4 separate regions of the Homo sapiens genome follow, and all the other regions are linked to region 1. The links are contacts of gene promoters, found by promoter capture Hi-C in blood cells and fetal thymus (Javierre and others, 2016). All regions are on one chromosome and are shown on one strand. Each heading gives the region's core, a stretch centred on a gene start or on the middle of the fragment in contact. The rest is flanking DNA. Distances are from core to core; before and after follow the strand shown. Region 1 holds the start of ANKRD13C (ankyrin repeat domain 13C). Region 2 holds the start of FUBP1 (far upstream element binding protein 1). Region 3 holds the start of ATG4C (autophagy related 4C cysteine peptidase). Region 4 holds the start of MSH4 (mutS homolog 4).

Region 1 (2,589 bases), core at 32-2,531:
GTTGTTTGTTTGCGGAGATGAGTTAGCAGTAGTATAAACTTTAAGAAAGAAGAGATCTGGCCGGGCGCAGTGGCTCATGCCTGTAATCCCAGCACTTTGGGAGGCTGAGGCTGGCGGATCACTGAGGTCAGGGGTTCAAGACCAGCCTGGCCAACACGGTGAAACCCCGTCTCTACTAAAAATACAACAATTAGCTTGGTGTGGTGGCGCAGGCCTATAATCCCAGCTACTCTGGAGGCTGAGGCAGGAGAATCGCTTGGACCTGGGAGGTGGAGGTCGCAGTGAGCCGAGATTGCACCACTGCACTCTAGCCTGGACTACAGAGACTCTGTCAAAAAAACAAAAAAACAAAAAAAAGAGAGAGAGATCTGAAGTATTTGCTCTCAGAACATAGGGGGACTTTGGAGAGTTAAATGGGTGAAGATCTTTAGGATGTTTTGCTAAGCCCCCTCCTTACGTCCTCAGTGGCCAGCTTTAGTTACTTTGTTAAAGTTTTATGGTTGGCAGATTTACGTTTCTTCAGAGTTTGACACTAGGTTGAGGTTGGCCATGAACTAATACAATTATATTTCAGTTACACGATTCTTTGCCCTCCTTGAGTGTCCCCACCCTCATATATGTTAACTCTGACATCTGCCCGAAATTCATTCATCTAATAAATATTTGAGTGGCCTCCCCTCTTTCCGATTGCTGGACAGCCCATCATTTTCCAAAGTCAGCACCTAAACTCTTCTATGACTTTCCTGACAACTCAACACTAAAATTCGTCCCTCCCTTTTTTGTGTGCAACCCACCTCCCCGCCTCCGCTTTTAATTGTTTGGCCTTCATTCCTCTTCTACAGTGCTCCCTGCAATCAGTACTGGTGCTGTACATATTTGCTAGCTTCGTACATACGGCACGAAGTAGATGCTCAGTAAATGTTGGTTGACTGAGTATCCTCTGCATCTCGGTGACATCACATCCTGCGTGCCGTGGCGTCATTCTGCATTCCTCTGCGGGAGGCTCAGATCCGGAGGGTTTAAGTGGTTGTTTATAACATGCACCGAACATATCCAACGGAGGCTGTGGTTTCCGACCGCCCACAAAAAGCGCGGTTGGCGGGAGTGCGGGTTCGGGGTCGGCTGGCAGCTGGGAGACTCCAGCTCTGGGCGGAAACACACTGCCTCGGAGGCGCCGGCGCCTAGTGATTCTGGGAATAGAAGGTGCGAGGGAGGGAGCGGGTGGCTCACTTATCGCGGTGTTTTCTCTCTCTTCACTCCTGGGGGAGCTCTCGCGAGAGGAGCAAGAGGAAGATGGCCGTGCCCTGTTTTTCGGTGTAAGGCAGCGACGGCGGCTGCGACGGCGAGACTGAGATCCTGGTGTCGTGGGCACCTGAGTTCTAGCTTCCCCCAGCGAGCGCGCGTCCCTTCGTGCCTAGGCGAGAGCCGGCTCTTCCCCGGGAGATGCGTTTGTCCCAGGCTCGGGGGCTCAGTGGGAGTTCATGCTGCGCTGGAGGCTCTTGGCCACCGCTCTAATCGCCTTGTGCCGCCGCAGCGCCAGCTCCGTCGCCAGCGGTGAGCCTCCCGATTCCCCCCCTTGCCCCTGGCGGCGGCGATGACCGGGGAGAAGATCCGCTCACTGCGGAGGGACCACAAGCCCAGCAAAGAAGAAGGGGACCTGCTGGAGCCCGGGGATGAGGAAGCGGCGGCTGCCCTCGGCGGTACCTTTACCAGAAGCAGGATTGGCAAGGGCGGCAAAGCTTGTCATAAGATCTTCAGTAACCATCACCACCGGCTACAGCTGAAGGCAGCTCCGGCCTCCTCCAATCCCCCCGGCGCCCCGGCTCTGCCGCTGCACAATTCCTCCGTGACTGCCAACTCCCAGTCCCCGGCCCTTCTGGCCGGCACCAACCCCGTTGCTGTCGTCGCGGATGGAGGCAGTTGCCCCGCACACTACCCGGTGCACGAGTGCGTCTTCAAGGGGGATGTGAGGAGACTCTCCTCTCTCATCCGCACGCACAATATCGGGCAGAAAGATAATCACGGTGAGGAGTGCTAGCCCCTCTCCACCTCTCTCCTTCCCCGAGCCTAGGGTGTGCCTCCCCAGGCTTCTGGAATCCTAGGCCCCCTCCAGCAGACTCTTCTTTTTGCCCATCATCCGGGCCGTTCGGTAAATCATGATCGACTCAGTAATAGCGTGCCAGTGGTCAAGGGGTTGGTTCTTGTGGGTGCAAAGGAATGTATCCTCCTTGCCCACTTCAAAGTTTGTCGTGAGAAGCTGTTTTGTTTGAGACAGGCCTTCGATTTGCTGATTCTGGACTGTCAGAAATTTTAGGTTGCCTCCCACCCAACATGGTTTTCTCCCTTTGTTTATGGAGCTATATATCTTTATTTCTCTCTCTTCCCCCTACCTTGGCATTTTAAATTTTGAACGCATAAATTGCCCTCCTCCCTTCATTGCTCACATACAGATCCCATCTTGACTGCAACTGGTTGTGATTTTGCCTGCCACCAGGTTGTTTCTTTTTTGTCTGCTTTCAGTAAACTTAGAATGTTAGATTTCTGAAAGCCACACAGTAGAAATTTGTTGGTATTTGATACGTAGAACAG
Region 2 (2,589 bases), core at 54-2,553, 7.6 Mb before region 1:
ACACACACACACACACACACACACACACACACACATATATATATATATATACCTAGTCCTGTGATGACAATTCAGAATATGATCTTACATTTGAGTACCCACAGGATGGGGTGGGAGAAACTACGCCTAAGAAGCTACAAAATCTATTTTGGTCAAGAAACAATGCTGTTCTTAACTTAAGAGACCTTAACAGGCCGGGCGCAGTGCCTCGCGCCTATAATCCTAGCATTCTGGGAGGCCGAGGCGGGTGGATCACGAGGTCACGAGATCGAGACCATCCTGGCTAACACGGTGAAACCCCGTCTCTACTACAAACGCAAAAAATTAGCCCAGACGTGGTGGCAGGCGCCTGTTGTCCCAGCTACTCGGGAGGCTGAGGCAGGAGAATCGCTTGAACCCAGGAGGCGGAGGATGCAGTGAGCCGAGACCGCGCCACTGCACTCCAGCCTGGGTAACAGAGCGAGACTCTCAAAACAAACAAACAAACAAAAAAAAACCCTTAATAAAAATGGCCATGGACACATACATATACTAGGTTATTAAATCTGGCTAACACTGAACTTTAAGAACAATCACGTTTTTGGATAAAGAAAAGGGCAGTCATACTTTTAGAGCCTCATCCACATTATTTTAAACAAAAAACTTAAAATATGGTCGAGAACTAACAGGCTTCCAGCCTGAATTCAACACCCACCCTCGTGATAAAACTAAAAAATCGGACAGTCTGTAAGTAAAATACAGGGACACTTTACTACCCTGAAAATCATGCTGGGTTCCCGCTACGCCGGGCAGACGTTTTCAGGAGCATCACCGCGCGGCGTCTCGGACGCACTTCTCCTGGCGCCCTCCGGGCGGCAGCGCTCTCGAGACACTGTTGCTTCGCCGTCACGCCCGTCGTTGTCACGCCCTTCCCCGCGGACACCGAGAATGACCCATAGCGGAAAATTCTACCGCACTACCTCCCTGAGGCAGCGACCGGTAAGAAACAACCTTTTCTTCAGGCTTCCCACCACCCAAACACAGTCGCAGTCAACTGGCCACTATCACCCACCACCCTGCAGGAACAATTACCCAGCCTCACCCCAAGAACGCGCGGAGAGGAGGTGCCAAAAGAAATTCTGTTCTCGCGAAGTCTTAAACTTAATCCTCGCGACGTCTCTGTTCCTGTCGTTCTTTCTCAGCCCTAACCCACACCAGCGCGTTGCCTCGGAAACATCGCGAGATTTTGTTCCTTCAGTCTCCGCCCCTTTACGGCACGATGGTCGCGCAAGAATGTAATAGAGCTTCGACGGCCGCCATTTTCTTTCTTTCTTAGCTGTTAGCTGAGAGGAAGTCTCTGAACAGGCGGCAGCGGCTCTTATAGTGCAACCATGGCAGACTATTCAACAGTGCCTCCCCCCTCTTCTGGCTCAGCTGGTGGCGGTGGTGGCGGCGGTGGTGGTGGAGGAGTTAACGACGCTTTCAAAGATGCACTGCAGAGAGCCCGGCAGGTAAGTGTGGACCGCGCGGCGGAATCCCGAAAGCTCACGGTAATTGGCCGCTGACTGAGTAGGCCGCTACCCTTAAGCGCATGAGGAAGAGGAAAGAGGTGTTCTTCCGGGCTGAAATGTGAAGAGACACGTTTCCCCATGTTGGTAATAACGATTAGAGACCAGAACCCAGTTTTGTGTTCTTGGTGCCTAATCCACTTAGAACCCCGACGCGTGCTACGCAAAGAAGGCCTGAAGTCTTTCTCCCGCTTCTGCGGCACTCGCGTGTCTCCAGTGAGCTAGTTTAGATAAAGATCCTCTTCCAGGGGATAAAGCGCAGTTAGTTTCACACAATTTAATGGAAGGTTCTGGTAATGAGTTTGGGAAAGAACTAGGGTCTGTCCTGGAGCCATAGCAAGGGAAGGGATTTATCATTAAAGTAGCCTTTACAGCTCATTTCCGTTCTCTCTCGCAATTAAAACCGCTTTCAGTACCATTCACCGTCACACCTCTACAAGGAAGGGACTTGAAAGCAGCCTTTTTCTGGGCGGGATTTACGTGTCAGTCTGTTCCACCAGTCCGCCCCCCTTATTTCTCAAAATGGCCTCAGGCCCATTATACCAGAGGTTTCAATTTGAATCTGCCTCTCAGTTCAGAGTCGTAAACTGACCAGACCTCTTTGTATTACGTAGTGCGTGCATTTGCCCTGAAGGCACCACTTTCCCAGACGAAAGCTGTTAAAATAGTGCGTGTATTCCAGGAAAATAAAAGATACCTTAATTTGAACTTTACATTCTTAGATAGTCCCCTAATATATTTAACATTTCAAAATGTATGGTGTTGGTATAGATTTGCATGTAAGCAAAAGAATCCTATTCTCTGTGACACTATGCATATTGTACTAGGTGCTGGGCATTTTTTACTAGTTTTAAGCTAATGATAATTAGAAACCAGTGTTGTGCTGTGTTTTCGTTGCATTAGGAGTTCACTTAGTTAACTTTTTACCGGGACAGTTGAAGGAACATTGAGTCAAAATTAGAATTCATAAAATCCGTTGTAACACATCTAATGTGAACGCATTATAAACATGTACCTGTACTTTTTTATAACCAGAAATACT
Region 3 (2,589 bases), core at 53-2,552, 7.6 Mb after region 1:
CTAAATTATACAATTCTTTAGATGGGCCACTTTTTGACATGTGGTTCTAAAAATTTTATAGCGAATGAACTGGTAATTCAATATAGCCTCAGATTATTGGACTAAATAGAAACTCTTCCTGTTCAAAGAAGAAGCTTTATCAATTTGAAACTCAGAAAATACATAGACTTTACCTTTCAAAGCCTTTCCACTCCCTCTGGGTATTCTCAATGGCTCATAATCTAATTACAAGTCACAAGCAAGCAAGAAGATCATTCCCTTGTCTCTTTCTGCCATCAACTGACACAAAATCATTGCCAAAAACCCACCGGGGACATATGGTCCGAGCAGGAAAACATAAGAAAACTCCTAAGTAATTCGGATATAAAAAGATGTAAGACGAGGTATTCTTCTGTAACTATAGGGTAGCAGTGAGCCCCATGTGGGTAAATAACCAATACAAAACGAAAAGGTAAGCCAAAGAAATCACAAGAAATATAAACTCAATAAGCAGTGATGCTGAGTTGACCGCTGAAGGTTCTCATATATGAATATAGTCATCATATGTAAGAATTTATTCTACACCTCCAACCTCAAAAGCCCTTAGATGTGGGTAGGGTTGGGAGAGTTCACGGTGAGCGGGAACCAAATGAAGTGAATGAACGTTAATATTTAGATGGAAAGGCATTAATATATGCAAGGCAGTGTGTTATGGCTTGAAGCAGTAACAAACACCAAAAAGGGAGAAAGAGGCTAGGAATGAGAACAGAGAGACAGTGGGGATCCAGTTATTATTATTATTTCCCTTTTTTTATTTTTTAAACGAGGAAAAACAGGGCCGACAGAGCACTGGCATGAGGAGGGGTCAAATGGATGCGATAGATCAGGGGAAAGAGTCTTGCCTGCAACATCTAAGAAAACCACAAGGAAAGGAGGAACAGCTGCCCACAGTTAGGCTTACGGTTTATCTCTGCAACCCAGGACAAAGCGAGGAAGAGTTAGAAGACAAATGACACTAGAAAGGAGAGACAAGGAAGGCGCCAAAACCCTCAGAGAACCCAGATGGTTGGCCACAGGGTCTTCACTGAAGGCGGACCCCCGCAAGAAACCCAGTCATTCGGGGACCAGAGACGCTAAGTCCCAAACTTCTTGACTCCTTTAGCCTCAAGCCGATCCCTCACCGAAAGAGAAGGACTGGAGAACTGTAAAAATGTGCAGGAGCCACCAACCCGGCAAATGCTCCAGCTCTAGCAGCAGCCGCCACAAAACCAGCCCGCACACACGCAGACGTTCCGACCTCAGCGCCGCAGCTACAGGTACTTTGAGCACCCCGGCCACCGTAGTAAGAGGAACCGCCTCCGCGTCAAATCCAACAGATCAGCCACTTCCGGGATACGAAAGCCTTGCGATTGGCAGTAGCGATAGCAGCGGCGTAAAGGCCTCTGCTATGCTTACTTTATCCATCCCTTTTTCCCACCTGTTCGCCACCCCAAGCCGCTAATCCACCAATGCAGCAAGCGCAGAACCAAGAGAAAGTATCCGTCTGTGAGCATTGTCTCTCTGATAGACAAACCACATTACGGCTGCCATAAATTCCTCTCGAGCACTTGGACTTCAACTACCAGCAGGCCATGCAGCATCACGCCCTTGCCTCTGGCGTAGGAACTGCAAGATCCAGCATGCATTGCGGCCCTCCTTCCTCGCACTCAGGACCAAGATAGAGCCAACCCAAGCCTCACTTTGATTTAAAAAAAAAAAAAAAAAAAAAGCCAGGATGCCTTCTTTTCCTGTTGTGAAGGAACTCTAAGCCAAGCCATTATTAGGACTGTAGGTTATTTATAAAACATCAAGGGATATGTGCACTCATTTTCCATATTCAGATTATTTTCAAGCATTAAAACACAGGACAGTCGGGCGCGGTGGTTCGCGTCTGTAATCCCAGCACTTTGGGAGGCCGAGGCGGGTGGATCGCTTGAGGTTGGGAGTTCGAGACCAACCTGGCCAACATGGTGAAAGCCCGTCTCTGTTAAAAAATTAAAAAATTAGCCGGGCGTGGCGGCGGGCGCCTGTAATTCCAGCTACTCGGGAGCCTGAGGCAGGAGAATTGCTTGAACCCGGGAGGCAAAGGTTGCAGTGAGCAGAGATCGCGCCACTGCACTCCAGCCTGGGCGACAGAGCGAGGCTTTGTGGGGAAAAAAAAAAAAAAAAGAAGGAAAAGAAAAAGAAAGAAAGAAAAAAGGACGGTCCGAAGATGCTTTTTATAACGTGGAAATTTTTGGCCAGGCGCGGCGGCTGACGCCTGTAATCCCAGCATTTTGGGAGGCCGAGGCGGGCGGATCACTTGAGCCCAGGAGTTCCAGACCAGCCTGGCCAACATGGTGAAATCCCGTCTCTACTAAAAATATAAAAAATTAGCCGGGTGCGGTGGCGCGCGCCTGTAGTCCCAACTACTCAGGAGGCTGAGGCGGGAGAATCGCTTGAACTCGGGAGGCGGAGTTTTCAGTGAGCCAAGATTGTGCCTCTGCACTCCAGCCTGGGCGACAGAGCAAGACCCTGTCTCAAAAAAGTAAAAATAAATAAATAAATAAATAAATAAGTGGAAATTTTTAT
Region 4 (2,589 bases), core at 62-2,561, 5.4 Mb before region 1:
ACCAGGAGTTTGAGACCAGCATGGGCAGCATAGCGAGACTCTGTTTCTAAAAATAAAGAAATTAAGAACATTAAATACAGCAGAAAGGTCACATGAGATGAACTGAAAAATGACCATTGGATTTGGTATTTGTTACTTTACCATTGTGTTGCAATCGTGTGTGAAAAATGGTGATGCTTTGTCATGAATAGAGACTAACAAAATAATAAATGATTTGAAGGACATGCATCTTTTTTGTTTGTTTGTTTTGAGTCAGGGTCTCACTGTGTCACCCAGGCTGAAATGCAGTGGCGCAATCTCAGCTCACGGCAGCCTCGACCTCCCGGACTCGCCATCCTCCCACCTCAACCTCCTGAGTAGCTGGGACCACAGTCACGTGCCACCACACCCAGATAATTTTTGTACTTTTAGTAGAGATAGGGGATGGGGGTGGGAGGTTCACCATGTTGGCCAGGCTGGTGTGGAACTCCCGGCCTCAAGTGATCCGCCCACCCTGGTTTCCCAAAGTGCTGGGATTACAGGCGTCAGCCACCGCCCAGCCCACTCTTTTAATACTAAACATATTATTTTCCCTGAATTAGATGAAATGTTCAATTTAATCTATTTTATCCCACCTTAGCAGGATTTGGAGAATTAAATTCAGCAGCCAAAGATCAGCTCACAACTTCTATCAGCAAACTCACGCACAAACTGTCATTTGTCAGACACTGTGAGGGACGTTATATGGGATACTTCAGCCTTTCTCAGAACTGAGCCATCCACAGTCAAGGTCTTGCAATAGAACCAATTTGAAAAGTCAAGGCTTCTAATCACCCAGACTCACCAAATTCCCAGGGCACTCAGATCTCACGCCCCAACCAAATCACAACTTCACTGTGGTAACCACCACCCACGTGCCCCCGAGCCTCCATGAACTGCCGGCCTCTAGCCTCAAGGAGACTCCTCCACCCAATCACTCCTTGCCTTGAGCTGGCCGGGAGTTTGGCGCGGGGCAGGGAAGGCTGCTGCTGCTGCTGCTCCGGTCGCCCGCAGCTCCTGACGTGCCAGGACAGGTGGATGCAGAGACCACCTGGACCGAAGGGCGGCTCTGTGGAGTCTCCTGGAGTCCGAAATTGTAGCGGGGACCCTGAGGTGAGCGGGTTTCTCCCGACGACGGGGAAACCGCCGGGGCAGAAGGCGAGGTTGATGAGATCTCAGGCCTCAGCATCCTCCCAAACCTTCCCTGACCCGAGAAGTATGAGGTTTCTGAGCGACCCCTCCAGTAGCCCAACTACAGAAGCTGCGCCGCTGAAACGGGCGGGAGAACTGCGCGCCGACGCACTAAGCTGCACTGCGCAGGCGCAGGCAGGCTCAGCTTTCCACATGGATTCACGTACTTCAGGTCTATGACCCTGCTTCCAGCCATTCCCAAACCCATCACTTTCCACATGAACCTCACTGGAACATCCTCAGCCTGCAGGTATCAGACTGACCAGAACTCTGCAAGGCCCATCAATGACCACCCGATTTGTTAGCCCCATTATTCTCACAGCACCCAATCTCCCTTATTGCAAATGTTACATGCATTTCCCACACGTCCAAGCACACTAGCTTATCTTTAAATGTAGAAACCACCCAACACAGTACACCCAGTGCCTTTGACACAATGAGAACGTGTAATGCTCACACAGCATAACCCACCTAAGGTTGATCTTGTGACCAAATATAGGAAAGATAGTTATATTATCAAAAGATAGTATGCACATGGCTGTGTGCATAGTAGAGTAGGAAACAGGGAAAGACTGACTGGGTAAGATCTCTCAGTTAACAATTCCCCATCTACCAATTTCTAGTACTGTGGTTTCTAACATATAAATCAGTTAATGGCACACTAGAAGTTCAAACTCCAGCTTTGCAGTGGTGACCTTTAGAAAATTCCTTAAATAAGGCCAATAGTACCAACTTACCAGAGATCCATGGATTAAACATGACGAAATTATCTGGATACTGCCATACAGAAGCTATTAGAAGACATTAATTTACACCACTACTGAAATCCTGCCACTGTTGAGTATCTCAATAAACCAGTTATGCACAGCGGTTTACCCACATGCAGTGACAACAGTCCTTAAGAACATCTCTGTTCTTGGAATGATTATTGCACAGGGCATTCCAAACATACTTGAGAAAAATCTCAATTTCCATCAAAAAACCTTATTTTCAGATCGGGCACGATGGCTCCTCCCTGTAATCCCAGTACTTTGGGAGACTGAGGCCAGAGGATTACTTCACCTCCGGAGACCAGCCTGGGGAAGACAGTGCCTGTCCCCAAAATTAAGAAATCAGCTGGGCATAGTGGGCATGGTGGCAGGTACCTGTAGACCCTGGTACTCAGGAGGCTGAGGTGGAAGGACTGCTTGAGCCCAGGAGTTTAAGGTTACAGTGAGCTGTGATTGCACTACTATGCCCCAGCCTGGGGAAGAAAGGAAGACCCTGTCTCTAAAAAATAAAATTTAAAAATAGAGAATACCTCACTTTCACCAAAACTGTAAACCCCTAGAGTGATTGTACTCATTTTAGGCCAGGCGTGGTGGCTCACGCCTGTAATCC

The links. The method cuts DNA at HindIII sites, captures the fragments that hold promoters and counts their contacts. A CHiCAGO score of 5 or more calls a contact.
Region 2: the fragment with the promoter of FUBP1 here is called in contact with the fragment with the promoter of ANKRD13C in region 1 in 1 of 17 cell types (non-activated CD4 T cells); the score reaches 5.2 in non-activated CD4 T cells.
Region 3: the fragment with the promoter of ATG4C here is called in contact with the fragment with the promoter of ANKRD13C in region 1 in 5 of 17 cell types (non-activated CD4 T cells, activated CD4 T cells, total CD4 T cells and 2 more); the score reaches 16.9 in non-activated CD4 T cells.
Region 4: the fragment with the promoter of MSH4 here is called in contact with the fragment with the promoter of ANKRD13C in region 1 in 4 of 17 cell types (total CD8 T cells, total CD4 T cells, total B cells and 1 more); the score reaches 15.6 in total CD8 T cells.

The regions. Positions count from the first base shown.
Region 1 is chr1:70,353,414-70,356,002 of GRCh38, reverse strand. ANKRD13C (ankyrin repeat domain 13C) reads left to right here and starts at 1,281. Exons shown (of 13, transcript NM_030816.5): 1 at 1,281-2,024. The coding sequence starts at 1,595. It overlaps ANKRD13C-DT (ANKRD13C divergent transcript), which reads right to left and starts at 1,192. Exons shown (of 4, transcript NR_168352.1): 1 at 795-1,192. RefSeq lists enhancers at 902-961, 1,062-1,121, 1,172-1,361, 1,392-1,451, 579-1,496 and 3 more. The HindIII fragment of the contact is 4,699 bases long and covers 1-1,741 here.
Region 2 is chr1:77,977,786-77,980,374 of GRCh38, reverse strand. FUBP1 (far upstream element binding protein 1) reads left to right here and starts at 1,303. Exons shown (of 20, transcript NM_003902.5): 1 at 1,303-1,490. The coding sequence starts at 1,371. It also overlaps a transcript of DNAJB4 not described here. RefSeq lists enhancers at 830-889, 900-1,049, 1,360-1,489, 1,500-1,559, 1,570-1,619 and 1 more. The HindIII fragment of the contact is 9,300 bases long and covers 1-2,589 here.
Region 3 is chr1:62,782,845-62,785,433 of GRCh38, reverse strand. It overlaps ATG4C (autophagy related 4C cysteine peptidase), which reads right to left and starts at 1,302. Exons shown (of 11, transcript NM_032852.4): 1 at 1,161-1,302. RefSeq lists a silencer at 822-1,116 and enhancers at 1,092-1,271, 1,392-1,451, 1,552-1,601. The HindIII fragment of the contact is 3,523 bases long and covers 137-2,589 here.
Region 4 is chr1:75,795,604-75,798,192 of GRCh38, reverse strand. It overlaps MSH4 (mutS homolog 4), which reads right to left and starts at 1,311. Exons shown (of 20, transcript NM_002440.4): 1 at 964-1,311. The coding sequence starts at 1,207. The HindIII fragment of the contact is 6,934 bases long and covers 1-2,589 here.